Linked DNA regions of Homo sapiens: region 1 is linked to region 2. Evidence: promoter capture Hi-C in human tissues and cell types (Jung and others, 2019). All regions are on one chromosome and are shown on one strand. Each heading gives the region's core, a stretch centred on a gene start or on the middle of the fragment in contact. The rest is flanking DNA. Distances are from core to core; before and after follow the strand shown. Region 1 has its middle 72 kb from the start of ZNF519. Region 2 holds the start of MC5R (melanocortin 5 receptor).

The links. Contacts are between HindIII fragments. The study calls those that stand out against the background at their distance.
Region 1: a fragment that was not itself captured here is called in contact with the fragment with the promoter of MC5R in region 2 in 2 of the 25 tissues and cell types used here (dorsolateral prefrontal cortex and lymphoblastoid cells).

Annotation. Positions count from the first base shown.
Region 1 is chr18:14,201,390-14,208,201 of GRCh38, forward strand. It overlaps the pseudogene ANKRD20A5P. Among named protein-coding and RNA genes, the nearest start is that of ZNF519, 72 kb to the left of the region's middle. The HindIII fragment of the contact is 5,032 bases long and covers 1-3,898 here.
Region 2 is chr18:13,818,977-13,825,648 of GRCh38, forward strand. It overlaps MC5R (melanocortin 5 receptor), which reads left to right and starts at 5,173. Exons shown (of 2, transcript NM_005913.3): 1 at 5,173-5,298. RefSeq lists silencers at 4,842-5,022, 4,988-5,277, 5,288-5,377. The HindIII fragment of the contact is 21,381 bases long and covers 1-6,672 here.

The DNA.
Region 1 (6,812 bases), core at 133-2,632, 380 kb after region 2:
TGATAAGTACTGTGACAGGGTAGGAGCTGAAAAAAATGAACTGGAAAATAAGTAGTGAGAGGAAAATCACATTAGGAAGTGCTTTCTCCAATAGAGGAAATATGAAATTTGATTAAGCTTTATTTGGATAAATACTAATACTTTGACTTTTAAATCATATGAGTGTGACTTTCATAATATTTATGCCTGTATAACTCTTCAGTGGATCAAATTATTTGTAGTAATCATGGAATTCTCCTGGTAACTTTTAGTTGCAAAAAGGTTCAGCACATAGCATACAGCTTTTGTTCTTGGAAACTTATTATTTTGGTATCACATAGTTTTTAGGAGAGATTGTTTCTCTACTTATATTATTGGTTCTGTAGTGAGACTAAAATAATATTAAAAATTGTAGAAAAATAGCTGAGTGTGGTGGTGTACACCTGTAGTCCCTGCTACTTGGGAGTTTGATGCAGGAAGATTGCTTGAGCCCAGGAATTTGAGAACAGCCTGGGCAACATAACAAGACTGTATCTGATTTAAAAATATAAATTGTGGAAACATAGACATTTAAATTTATGTTCTCAAAATTTGTATTGCAAAGGGATTTTTGTGTGTTTTATGAGTTGTCCATGAAGAGTTCATATAAAACACTTCATCTAATTGAATAACATGTATTTTGCTGCAAATAACCAGTTCTAGAAGCAGAGACTCTTAATACCAATATGGTAAGACTTTATCATCATAATTTTGTCATTGTAGTTTATTTAAAATATTTACTTGGCTGGGTGTGGTGGCTCACACCTGTAATCCCAGCCCTTTTGGAGGCTGAGGTGGGTAGATCACCTGAGGTCAGGAGTTCAAGATCAGCCTGGCCAACGTGATGAAACCCTGTCTCTAAAAAAAAAAAAAAAGAAAAAAAAAAAAGCACAAAAATTAACCAGGTGTGATGGTGCATGCCTGTAATCCCAGCTGCTCAGGAGGCCACGGTGGGAGAATTGCTTGAACCTGGGAGGCAGAGGTTGCAGTGAGCCAAGATCGCACCATTGCACTCCAGCCTGGGTGACAGAGCAAGACTACATCTTAAAAAATAAAATAACCACTCAAAGTCCTTATATCCTATTCTGAAATTTTGAATGTCAGAAGGTTTTCTATTTAGTTGTTTAAATAATCATTGGAAGCTCCTGCATACTACAGGCTACTGGAGGTCAGTAAACATATTTGTGTGTATCCTGGAGTACCTAGAATACAGTCTTCCATGTAAAAAGCATTTTACTTGTTGTTTTTTGTGATGGGGTTTCACTCTGTCACCCAGGCTGGAGGGCACTGGTGAAATCTTGGCTCACTCCGATCTCCATTTCCTGGGCTCAGGAGATCCTCACACTTCAGCCATCCAAGTAGTTGAAACAATAGAGGTATGTCACCATAGACCTGTGTCACCATGCTCGGCTGAGTTTTGTAGAGACAGGGTTTTGCCTTGTTGCCGAGGCTGGTCTTTAACTGTTGGGCTCAAGTGTTCTGCCCGCCTCAGCCTCTCATAGTGCTGGGGTTACAGGCATGAGACATTCAGCCTTAATAGTTGTTTAATCTGAATAAATAGACAAATGAATTTTTATATAATGGAATGTTATAAGTAATATAATATACCTAATGTATCTAACAATTAAATATTATATTTAAAATATTGCTTACATTTGTATTATTTTTTAATATTTAAGGGCGTATAAGTTTTGATGTGTTATGTTGATAAATTGTGCCATAATTAAAAAGGAAATAAATTAGAAATAGGTCATCAGTAGCAAAGAGGGTTACAATATATTTTCTAGTATCATTGAACTGGAATCTTAACATTGAGATTTTAGATTAACATTTCTTAAGCTTTTTATTAGTCCCAACTCAGGTTCTATTAAATATACCTTTTCAAGCCATACATTACCCTTTATTATTATTATTATTATGTTTTAAGTTCTCGGGTACATGTGCACAACGTGCAGGTTTGTTACATATGTATACATGTTCCATGTTGGTGTGCTGCACCCATTAACTCATCATTTACATTAGACATATCTCCTAATGCTATCCCTTCCCCCTCCCTCCACCCCACAACAGGCCCCTGTGTGTGATGTTCCCCTTCCTGTGTCTAAGTGTTCTCATTGTTCAGTTCCCACCTATGAGTGAGAACATGTGGTGTTTGGTTTTCTGTCCTTGCTCAGAATGATGGTTTCCAGCTTCATCCATGTCCCTACAAAGGACTGAACTCATCCTTTTTTATGGCTGCATAGTATTCCACGATGTATATGTGCCACATTTTCTTAATCCAGTCTGTCATTGTTGGACATTTGGGTTGGTTCCAAGTCTTTGCTATTGTGAATAGTGCTGCAATAAACATACTTGTGCATGTGTCTTTATAGCAGCATGATTTATAATCGTTTGGGTATATACCCAATAATGGGATGACTGGGTCAAATGGCATTTCTAGTTCTAGATCCTTGAGGAATCACCACACTGTCTTCCACAATGGTTGAACTAGTTTACAGTCCCACCAACAGTGTAAAAGTGTTCCTATTTCTCCACATCCTCTCCAGCACCTGTTGTTTCCTGACTTTTTAATGATCGCCATTCTAACTCGTGTGAGATGGTATCTCATTGTGGTTTTGATTTGCATTTCTCTGATGGCAAGTGATGATGAGCATTTTTTCATGTGTCTGCCATACATTACTCTTTAGAATTCTGGTGACCAATTCTTTTTCTGGGTGGAACGTTGATGGAAAGTTCCAGTTTTCTCTCTCTGTTATAATAATGTTCTTTCAGGTAGTGGTAGATGACCATATTTAGTTAACTGAATGTCTTATAGTAATAAACTCTATCACAGAAGTACTTACAAAAAACTAATTGTAGCATAAATATTAATTAGTATTATCAGGGATATGAAAGACCAGAAGGCTCTGTTATAGATCTATTTCCCCATGTACTTTATTGTACTTCATGTTGTTTCTTTTCTTTCTTGGCTTAAGCTCATATTTCATTGACCAATTAGGCTTCTTTTTTGTTTGTATGTCTCTTCATTCTCACATTTTAAATTGATATTTTTGGGGAGTCAGGGTCTTGCTCTGTTGCCCAGGCTGCAGTGTAGTGGCATGATCTTGGCACACTACAGTCTCCACCTCTCAGGCTCAAATGATCCTCCCACATCAGCTTCCCAAGCAGCTGGGACTACAGGCACACACCATCATGCCTGACTCCTTTTGGTATTTTTTGTGTAGAGATGTGTTCTCATTATGTTGCCCAGGCAGGTCTCAAACTCCTGAACTCAAGCAATCCACCCACCTTGGCCTTGCAAAGGGCTGAGATTACAGGTGTGAGCCACCATGCCTGGGCAACATTGAGATTGATTTAAAGAAATTGATTAGGGCTGGGTGTGGTGGTGCACACTGCTTATCTCAACACTTTGGGAGGCAGAAGTCGAAGATTTACTCAAGCCTAGGAGTTTGAGACCAGCCTGGGCAGTATAATGAGGCCTTGTTTCTACAAAGATAACAATAAAAACATTAGCATGGCATGATGGTATGCACCTGTAGTTCCAGCTATTCAGGAAGTTGAGGTGGGAAGATTGCTTGAGGTCAGGAGTTTGAGACCACAGTGAGCCATAATCAGGCCCCTGCATTCTAGCCCTGGGTTGACAGAGTGAGACCCAGTTTCATAAAAAGAGATTGATAAGAAAGTCTTGATGCAACTCATTATAATTTTAAAATGGAAATTAATTCTTGATATTACCTTAGCAGTGTGTCCCCGAGAAAGTGTCAGAGCCTTTACGTGGACCTTCCCATGGAAAAGGAAACAGAATAGTCAATGGAAAAGGAGAAGGTGAGAACCGTATTTTATTTAAAAAGTCATTTGTTGCAGGCTGGGTGCGGTGGCTCACGCCTGTAATCCCAGCACTTTGGGAGGCTGAGGTGGGCAGATCATGAGGTCAGGAGATCGAGACAATCCTGGCTAACATGGTGAAACCCCATCCCTACTAAAAATACAAATAATTTGCCAGGTATGGTGGTGGGCCCCTGTAGTCCCAGCTACTTGGGAGGCTGAGGCAGGAGGATAGTGTGAACCTGGGAGGTGGAGCTTGCAGTAAACGGAGATCACTCCACTGCACTCCAGCCTGGGTGTCAGAGTGAGACTCTGTCTCAAAAAAAAAAAAAAAGTCATTTGATGGAATGTTTCTTTGAAAATATGAGCACTAATAGAGTCTAATAGCTAAAGAAAATGTCCTATTAGCTGTATAATAAGTAAAGGAGAAGTGAAATGGTGATAAGTTGTGTCTCTAACCAAGGGTCAGCAGTTGATTCTATTGGGAGTACCACTAAAGGAGCTGAGTTGTGAGTTCCATTTTAAGATACTCTAAGACCTAAGGCAAGTCAGGAGAGAGGGAAGAGGAAATGAATAAAAGAGAAAGAAAGATGAGGGCAGAGTGTACATGGAATAAATAAAAACACATATGCAGATGTATGTAATAGAGGGTAGTAAAGTCAAATTGATCTGTAGAAAAAGGAAGAACAGGGTGTTAGAAATAGGAAGGAAGATAAAGTGAGCTTCCAGTACCAACATGTGTCAGAGAATTAGAGTAACATTTTCCTACCCTTGCTGTCATCCTCACTACTGGGGAGGCATTAAGGATTGAGGTATTTTACCACACAGACCTGTGTTTTATCTACCATAGATGAACATCACCATAAATGGTCAGCCATGTATGGCTATAATTTGGTTTTAAAGAAAATGTTGTAACCTCATAGGATACTATCATATAGGCTAAATTAACATAATTGAAAAGAATAGTGTTGGGTGATGTATGGAAAGAAATTAACTAGAGAAGGTATTACCTGATTAAAAGTTATTAAAAGCCATATTAACATTATGGCTTATAATGTAGTATTAAATTCAGAGACATAATAGGGAAGAAATTGAGGCTAGGCCAAAAAGGGCAATTAGGGTAAACTAATATGGAATCACATAAAGTGTAGAACAGGGCATTCAGATCGTCATGAATTAGTTGAGGAGCTTCTAGAAACTGCACATTCTGATTTAGCGGGTATGGGAGTCTGCGTTTCTCATGAGTACTCAGGTGATGTTGTTGCTGGTCCTTGGACACAGCTCTGAATAGCAAGGGAATAGCCTTCCTTTAGAGAAATCTGGAAAAAGAACCACTGGAGAGCAATTTGAATAATAACAGAATCCAGGGAAAGCATTAATTTTCTTTTATTTCTGAGCATCATTCTAGCTACAGGGGAAGGAAAATGAGATGAAAAAAGAGAGATTACAGGTGTATACTACTGCTGAATACAGATGAAAAAAGTGGTCACAAGTATCCATAAAAAGCAGTTAGGAAGGGAAGCATCAGGATGACAGATCTAAAAATCCCTTTTTCAAAGGAAGAGGGATTGTGAAAGGACACAGAGGGAAGAAAGAAAGACATTTGCTGGGGTCTTGGGAGTTAAAGCCAAGTAAACTTGAGACAACTCACTTCCAGTTGCTTCAGCATATGCCCAGTCTCACAAAAGAGGTTATTGCTGTGGAGAGTACTGGAGGCAGGAGGGAGTGCTAGAATTGGGGTAAACCACAGCAGCTCATTTCACTTCATAATTGTCAGGCCTCAGAGAGAGAAGTTTCATTGACATGAGTGAATAAGATGTGATTAAGTTGCATATAGATGCTTTGGCTAATTTTTTTTGAGATAGCCAGTTCTTTGATATGATAGCTGCTTTATAAAAGTCCTTTACAGTGTAAGATGATATACCAAACTTAGTTAATTTTAGAAGCAATTGTGTTATAAAATTCATTCTGTGAATACCAAAATTCTCATTTTCAATAGATACTGCACTGATTTTGAAATATAAATGTGTATTCGTGTCTAGCAAGTCTGTGGTAATTCAGTGTTTTCTTTTTTGATAAATATTTTGATATTGGAAGCTTATTCGACATGGTTTATTTGATGTGTTTTATGGACCACCTCACACAAGTGGATCAAGGAGCTCTAACTCAAGGCCAAATGAGGGGATAGGAGAAATGTTGGTGCTGCAGTAGCCCATGTGATCATGGGAAAAATGAGTAGTTTGATTAGCTGTTATTTCATAAGTGTGTATCCTAGCTGATCAATGTAGAACACTTTCTTTGATGAGAGGTGAATCACACATTCACCTGAACTGTCATCCCAACTGTATATTTCCTAAGTGACAAGACAAGGGGAATTTGTTTGTGCTGTGCTGGCAGCAATGCCTCTGATGTGTTGAGTTAAAATACTCTGTACATTCACCATCAGCTTGGACATCGATTCCCTCAGGTTTGATTTGCTCGTCTGTTTAGTGGTCCCTTTTCTTCTCATCAGCCCACATGTTCACGGTGATATCCATGCTTTTCTATTTTAGGTATAGGCATTTGAAACATAATCTCACTACTGAAATGTAGGCTGTGCATTTTAGGAATCCTATATTCCTATTTTCCTCATTAGGTTTCTGTCATGTTGCTGTCCTAGGCAATGAAAAGAAGAAGCCAAGAAGAACCCTCAAAACCTTAAGTAATTATTTTTGTAGCCAGGCATGAGAATTCAGCTCGATAGTAACACTGCATGAATGTTTGGTTGGCCCTGTCATACTTACATATAATTGATGACATATCCCTTTTGCTTTGTAGGGCCTCCTGCAAAACATCCTTCCTTGAAGGTAATTAATTATGTATATTTTTTGAATCACTAACTCCACATTGTATAAAATATATATGATTTATGAATCATTTTCTTTTAAAACCCATTCAGCCTAGCACTGAAATGGAAGATCCTGCTGTGA
Region 2 (6,672 bases), core at 3,923-6,422:
CATCTCTGAGTATCTCCCCAGTGAACGATTCCACACCCTTCAGCAGGAGCACAGTGAGTTCCGTTGCTTATCAGGAGCTATGTGCTTCTGGAAGGAAAGGACTGTCTATTCGGTCTTCAGTCTAACATCCTTAGCTTTTTCTCTTTTTTTTTTTTTTTTTTTTTTTTGAGACGGAGTCTCGCTCTGTCGCCCAGGCTGGAGTGCAGTGGCATGATCTCGGCTCACTGCAAGCTCCGCCTCCCGGGTTCACGCCATTATCCTGCCTCAGCCTCCCGCGTAGCTGGGACTACAGGCGCCCGCCACCATGCCCGGCTAATTTTTGTATTTTTAGTAGAGACGGGGTTTCACCATGTTAGCCAGGATGGTCTCGATCTCCTGACCTCGTGATCTGCCCGTCTCGGCCTCCCAAAGTGCTGGGATTACAGGCGTGAGCCACCGTGCCCGGCCCCTAACATCCTTAGCTTTAAACTAAATGCAAAGGATGCTTACTGGGTCCTGTTCAAAGATGAGAGGTGTGTACAGTTTCAAACATAACCTTCCCCAGGGACTTTCAGAATCTTGACCTACATGGCATTGCAGAGATTACGTCTTTCTAGCAGTCAAAATAAAACAAACATTAAATAGAAATGAAAAACCAAAATAGAAATTTGAAAATTCCCCCAAATCCCACACCAAACCCCAAGTCCTCGTTTTCTGGCTTGAGAGGGAATATTGAGGGTTGGTGTGGAAGGGTCCCACTGTGCCAACACTGTGTGTAGCCTGCTTGTTCAGGGCCGGTTTTTGTTTTCGGCCTTGACACCTCAGAGTCAGGATTACTTGGTAATTTTGCTGCAGCTGCCAAGAGCTGGGCCTGAGCATGAATTGGCAGCATCCCCAGGCAGGGGGTGGAGAAAGGGATTCAGCCCAGGGGCCTGTTCATCTCGTGAGGTTCTGCCACTGATGCACAACCTTCTTCCCACCTGAACTCCTCCAGTGCCATCTCCTCGCCGTGGCTGGGCTGCTGTAACGCTACAAATCTAAAAGTGTTGTGCTGCTGCTTAAGCCCTGGCAAGGCTTCCCCTTGCCTTAGCCTCAGTACCTTCGTAGAACCTGCAAAGCCTTGGGTGCCCTCACAAGCTCTTTCTCCAGTCACTGGCACTCTCTCTCTCCCTCAAAGAAACCCACCCCTCCCGCCTTAGCGCCCTAGCTGGATGTTCCCCAGCCTCCTCCCACCTGGTGACCGCATTTCACCCTTCAGCCCTCAGCTTCCATCTCCTGCTTTGGCCCATTCTGTACCCATCACGGGCCTCTCTGCATGTCCAACTCTCTTCCCTTCGCTTCATGCTCTCTCCCTGTTCCTCTCTGCCTGCCTTTGGGATCCCAGGGCACCTGAGTTTCCTCCTCTGTGGCAATGGGACTGAGGCACAGGACTTGAGTCCTTAGACTGTGATTAAGCACAGATACCACCTGGAAGTCTGGATTCAGATCCTGATCCTGCTTTCATCACCAACTGAGAAGTCACATGACTACTCAGAGCTTCAGCTTCCCCATCTGTAAGATGCTGGGAAGAATGTCGACTTTATAGGGCTGCTGGGAGAATTCACTGAGAATACGGACATGCAGACCACAGTATTGGACACTGCAGGCTCCCAGCAAATGTTCCTTTCCTTTTCTCTAAGTAAGGTGGGAAACTCGTGCATATCTAGGATCGCATTGCCCAATGTTCATGTGTGACATGGGCAAGTGCATCTACATAAATGTGGGCTTGGGATTGAGAAGATTTGGATCAACAGCTGGTGGCACCACTGACCAGCCAAATAGTGTCAGAAACTCCATGAGCCTCAGAGTCTGTGTCTATGAATATGGTAATAATGTTAATACCTTCCAGGGTTGCTTTAAGGACTACGTAAGTTAATATATGAAAGTATTTTGTAATCCTTGGAGTTTAAAAATTGTCATAACCCAGCACTTGTGATTATCTTGCTTTCTCAGCACTCACTTGGGTGAGCTTTGCCTTGCAGCAGGTCTTTTAGTGCCTTCGTCCAGCCCCTTGGTGGTGTTGAGCACAGAGATGACATTTGATAAGAGTTTTCTGGCGCCATGAGAGCGACAGACACAGAGCTGTGCCAGACACCTCAGGGGAGGACCTGCTGCCCAACTGTAGGGGTGGTCTGCTGCCTCCCCCAGCTGTCAGCCCCTCCGGTTTGGCCTCACACCTTCCCGGAAGCAGCTTGCTTCTGGTGACTGAGCTGGGTGGGGCGTGAGGGCTGAGGTTGTTGGAGCTGCCTGGCAGCTCTCTTCTCTCCCTCCCCTCCCATCCCTCCCTCCGCAGGCCTGCCCCCAGGAGGCTTCCCCACAGCATCCTGCATGGTGAACTCTTCAGAGCCTGTGACTCAGAGAACCCAGGCCGAGACATCCAGTGTCCAGCTAGATTTGACCCTTGCAAGCCTTCACAGATATGACTCCACGGGTTGTCTCTGTGCACTCGAATTGAGAATCCTCTCTGTTGTCATTGTTCAAGAAATAAAACACCTGGGTTGTTGCATGTTATGCTGGTCTTTGACAGGGAAAGGAACATTCCTTCCTGGGTGGCTCATGTCATCGTGTGTGTTCAGCATTGTCATTAGGCTGCTGTTTGGGAGAAAGTTTCCAATGACAGGAACAGTTGAAGAGCTTAGTCTCTATTCTCTTAACTCTATTAACCTTAATTCAATTATTTTCCTGCAAGAAACCGAGAATTCCTACATCACCTAAGGTGTTTCAGAATATAAAAATAATCAAAATATTTCCCCAGTTTATTAAACAAAGTTAGGGTAACTTATATACCAAAATCTGATAAAGACAGTATGAAGACAGGAACACTGCACATCAAATCCAGCAGCATTTTAAAAGAATAATGCCCGGTGGCACCAGGGCTCTCAGGGAGGCTGCGTCCTGCCGGGGAAAGTGCTTGGGCTCTGAGTCAGTCGGGGCTCAGCTCTCTAGCGCTGGAAGCTGGAGCTTGCTAAGTCACCTCTCCCAGCACCGGCTCCTTCCATTGCGAGAGGAGAAACCCACTTCTAGGGTTTCGTAAAGGTTGAGGAAGGTAATTCCTGTGCAGCACTCAGGGTCACCCCTGCACATAGGGCCCCTGGGCCAGCCGCCCTCACCACTGTGGGAGGCCGCCTGCTGTGGTCCAGCTGCTCATCTTGCACAGAGCCCTCCATTTTGAGCACTTTCCTGGGACACCAGGACCTTTTGCAGAGCCCTCTCTGATCTGATCTTGGATGTGAGGACTATATGTGGGAGTGCTTGACCCTGCTGATGTTTTCAACACACGGAAATGGGTTCCCTCCCTCACACCACATTCCCAATATGTATTCTCAACATTCAGAACCTCCTTCTAGAATTCCACCCTGTGGCTCCCAGCACGGCTTGGGACTCCAGTGGCGTGAGGCCAGCCAGACTGTGGTCCCCACACTTGAAATACTGGAAGGTTGTGATCATCTGCAAAGCCCAAGGAAAGCTCTGGTAGTGATATGGCCCCGTGCATCCTGCCCTGGCTTGCAGGGCAGTGGCACTTCTGCTTATTGTGAGTATAATGATTCTTTTGGGGGTTGAAGGTCAGTTTTAGGTGTCAGAGAAGGAGTGGGGTCCAGAAACTATTGCGAAAGGCCAGGATATTTGGTGAGAGGACATCCTTTGTTCTTTTTTGCTGGAGTAAGGAAAGCCTGTGTGGTTGATAAAGCCTGGCATGGCATGTGTAGTCCTGGAGGAGGGGTGAGAGCCTTGGGCAAAGAGGGGCGTGGTAGGGCCACAGATGAGGGCTCCCAGGCACTGGGCCTCCTTCCCAAAGAACAATCATCAGGACATCCCAGAGACCACTGTCCAGGAGAAACGGGGTGACAAGCCCTCTTTGAGCTCGGGAGCATTTTAATCAGTGCTCAAGAGGAAGAGAAAAGAAACAAAAAGTGCAACCAGCCAGAAAAACAACCAAGCAGCTACCCACCCAACCACCCATCCACCCACCCACTGACCCAACCAACCACTCCCCCACCCAACCACCTATCCATCCACCCACCGACCCAACCAACCAACCAACCAACCACCCACACAACCACCCATCCACCCAACCCACTGACCCAACCAACCAAACCAAGCAACCACCCACCCAACCACCCATCCACCCACCCACTGACCCAACCAACCTAGCAACCACTCACCCAACCACCCATCCATCCACCCACTGACCCAGCCAACCAACCAACCAACCAACCACCCTCCCAACCACCCATCCACCCACCCACTGACCCAACCAACCAACCAAGCAACCACCCACCCAACGACCCACCCACCCACCCACTGACCCAACCAACCAACCAAGCAACCACCCACCACCCACCCACCCACTGACCCAACCAACCAACCAAGCAACCACCCACCTACCCAACCAACCCCCACTTACCCAATCAACCAACCAAGCAACCATCCACTCACCCAACCAACCACCCACCCACCCAAGCAACCAATCAACGAACCAAGCAACCACCCACCTACCCAACCAACTACCCCCCACCCACCCAAGCAAGCGAGCAAGCGAGCAAGCAACCAAGTAACCATCTACTCACTCAACCAAGCAACCACCCACCTACCCAACCAACCAATCAACCAACCAAGCAACCACCCACCTACCCAACCAACCAATCAACCAACCAAGGAACCACCCACCTACCCAATCAACGAACCCCCCACCCAACCAGCCAAGCAACCAAGTAACCATCCACTCACCTAACCAATCAACCAATCAACCAATCAGGCAACCACCCACCTACCCAACTAACTAACCCGTAACCACCCAACCAACCAAGCAAGCAACCACCTGCTCACCCAACCAACCAATCACCAAACAAGCAACCACCCACCCACCCACTCAACCAACCAACTACCCAACCAAGCAACCACTCACCCAACCAACCATTCAACCGACCGACCGACCGACCGACCGACCCACCGACCCGACCGACCAACCAACCAACCAAGCAACCATCCAACCATTCAAGAGTGTGTTCGGGGGGATTTTCGCTCGGGGCTGACGCGGTTCTCTGGCCGCTGTGCCGTGCTGGGCCACTAGGTGGCAGCGGAGGCCGCCCGGAGCGACAGCCGGCGGTGCGGAGGCGGGCCCGGCGCGGGCAGGCAGGAGGCTTAAAGCCCCGCAGAGCCGCAGCCGCCTAGCTGGGGGAGAGGCCCGTCCGGGGCTGGCTCTGAGCGCCGCACGGCCGTCGGATCCCGGGGACGCCGGGGGCCCGGGCTGAGCGCCGCGGCCCGCGAGGAGGAGCACCGGTAAATAGCCACAACTTTCTATCTCCTTGAGATCCTGAGAATAAATGCAAAATCGCGCTTCCGCTGCATGTGGAAGTGAGCGGGGCGGCAGCTAGCTTGCCCCGTGAGTTTTTAACACAGCTCGATATGATGTTTAGTATAATTGCATAATTTACCGATATATCTGAGCTGGAACTCAGCTGTAACAAATGATTGTAGTTCAATAAATGCTTAGATTACCAATTTTTTCCTTTTTTATTTTTATAGATTTAGGGGGTACAGGTGCTGTTTTGTTATATGGATGTATTGCATAGTGGTGGAGACTGGGCTTTTAGTGTAGCCATCACCCCTATAGTGTACATTGTACCTATTAAGTAATTTGTTGTCCCTCACCCCCTCCCTCCCTCCCAAAGTGATTACAAATATTAATGATGACAGTGATGACAGAAATTCTCTCCAGATGTGATCTGAGTTTGGAGGGCAAAGGGATTTTTGAAAATGAATCATAAGAGAGAAATTTTGCAACAAAGGAGTGTGGTACATTTAAATTGCTGTTTTTTTTTTTAAATACTGTGCTCACGCGGACCTAATAAACTATCAAGCAGACCTCATGGAATTCCACATAATGCAGAAGCGAGGGAAAAATAGGTATTGAGGGAAAAGCAGCACTGTTTTCCTCAATTTTAACACGTATGTGCAGCCTACACTTACAAACTTAAGACAGTAGCTTTTAACATGTGACTTTGCTCAGGGTAACAGACCATTCTGGTTATAGCCTTACTTACAGCTGTGGAGGCTGAATCCTGATGGGTCTAAGAAGTGTCAGGACAAGTGTTAGGGATGCACCTGTCTGTCTGTCTTAAGGGAATACGGGTCTGGGCAGTCTTAAATCGGAGCTCCCTTGAGGAGAATGTCGTGCAGTAGCCTTAGGAATGTGAACATTGGGAGACTGGCTGGGATTTTGTAGGTTATGAGTTGGGGACACTTATGATAGTGAACTTGAGCCCAGGAGAGAAGCCATAAAAAGTGAAACTGTCCTGGGCACTTGGAGGTGAGTGTCTCTCTAGTAAGATGCATGTGAAAGGCTGGGAGCTGAAAGCAAGGAGAGCAGAAGAGGCTGGTGAAGATTCTAATCTGCGTGTCCAGGGGCACTCTTCCAGGTCTCAGGAACGCAGGTCAGAATGTGCAAGCCAGCTGCCGGGCACGTGGCTCACCCCTGTAGTACCAGCACTTTGGGAGGCTGAGAGAGAAGATCGCTTGTGGCCAGGAGTTTGAGACCAGACTGGGCAACATAGGGAGACCCTGTCTCTTAAAAAAAAAAAAAAAAAAGGACTGAGTGAGCCGAGCCCAGTCCTCTGATGCACTGTGTCATTCATCCCCTTTCTTAGGCTGTGT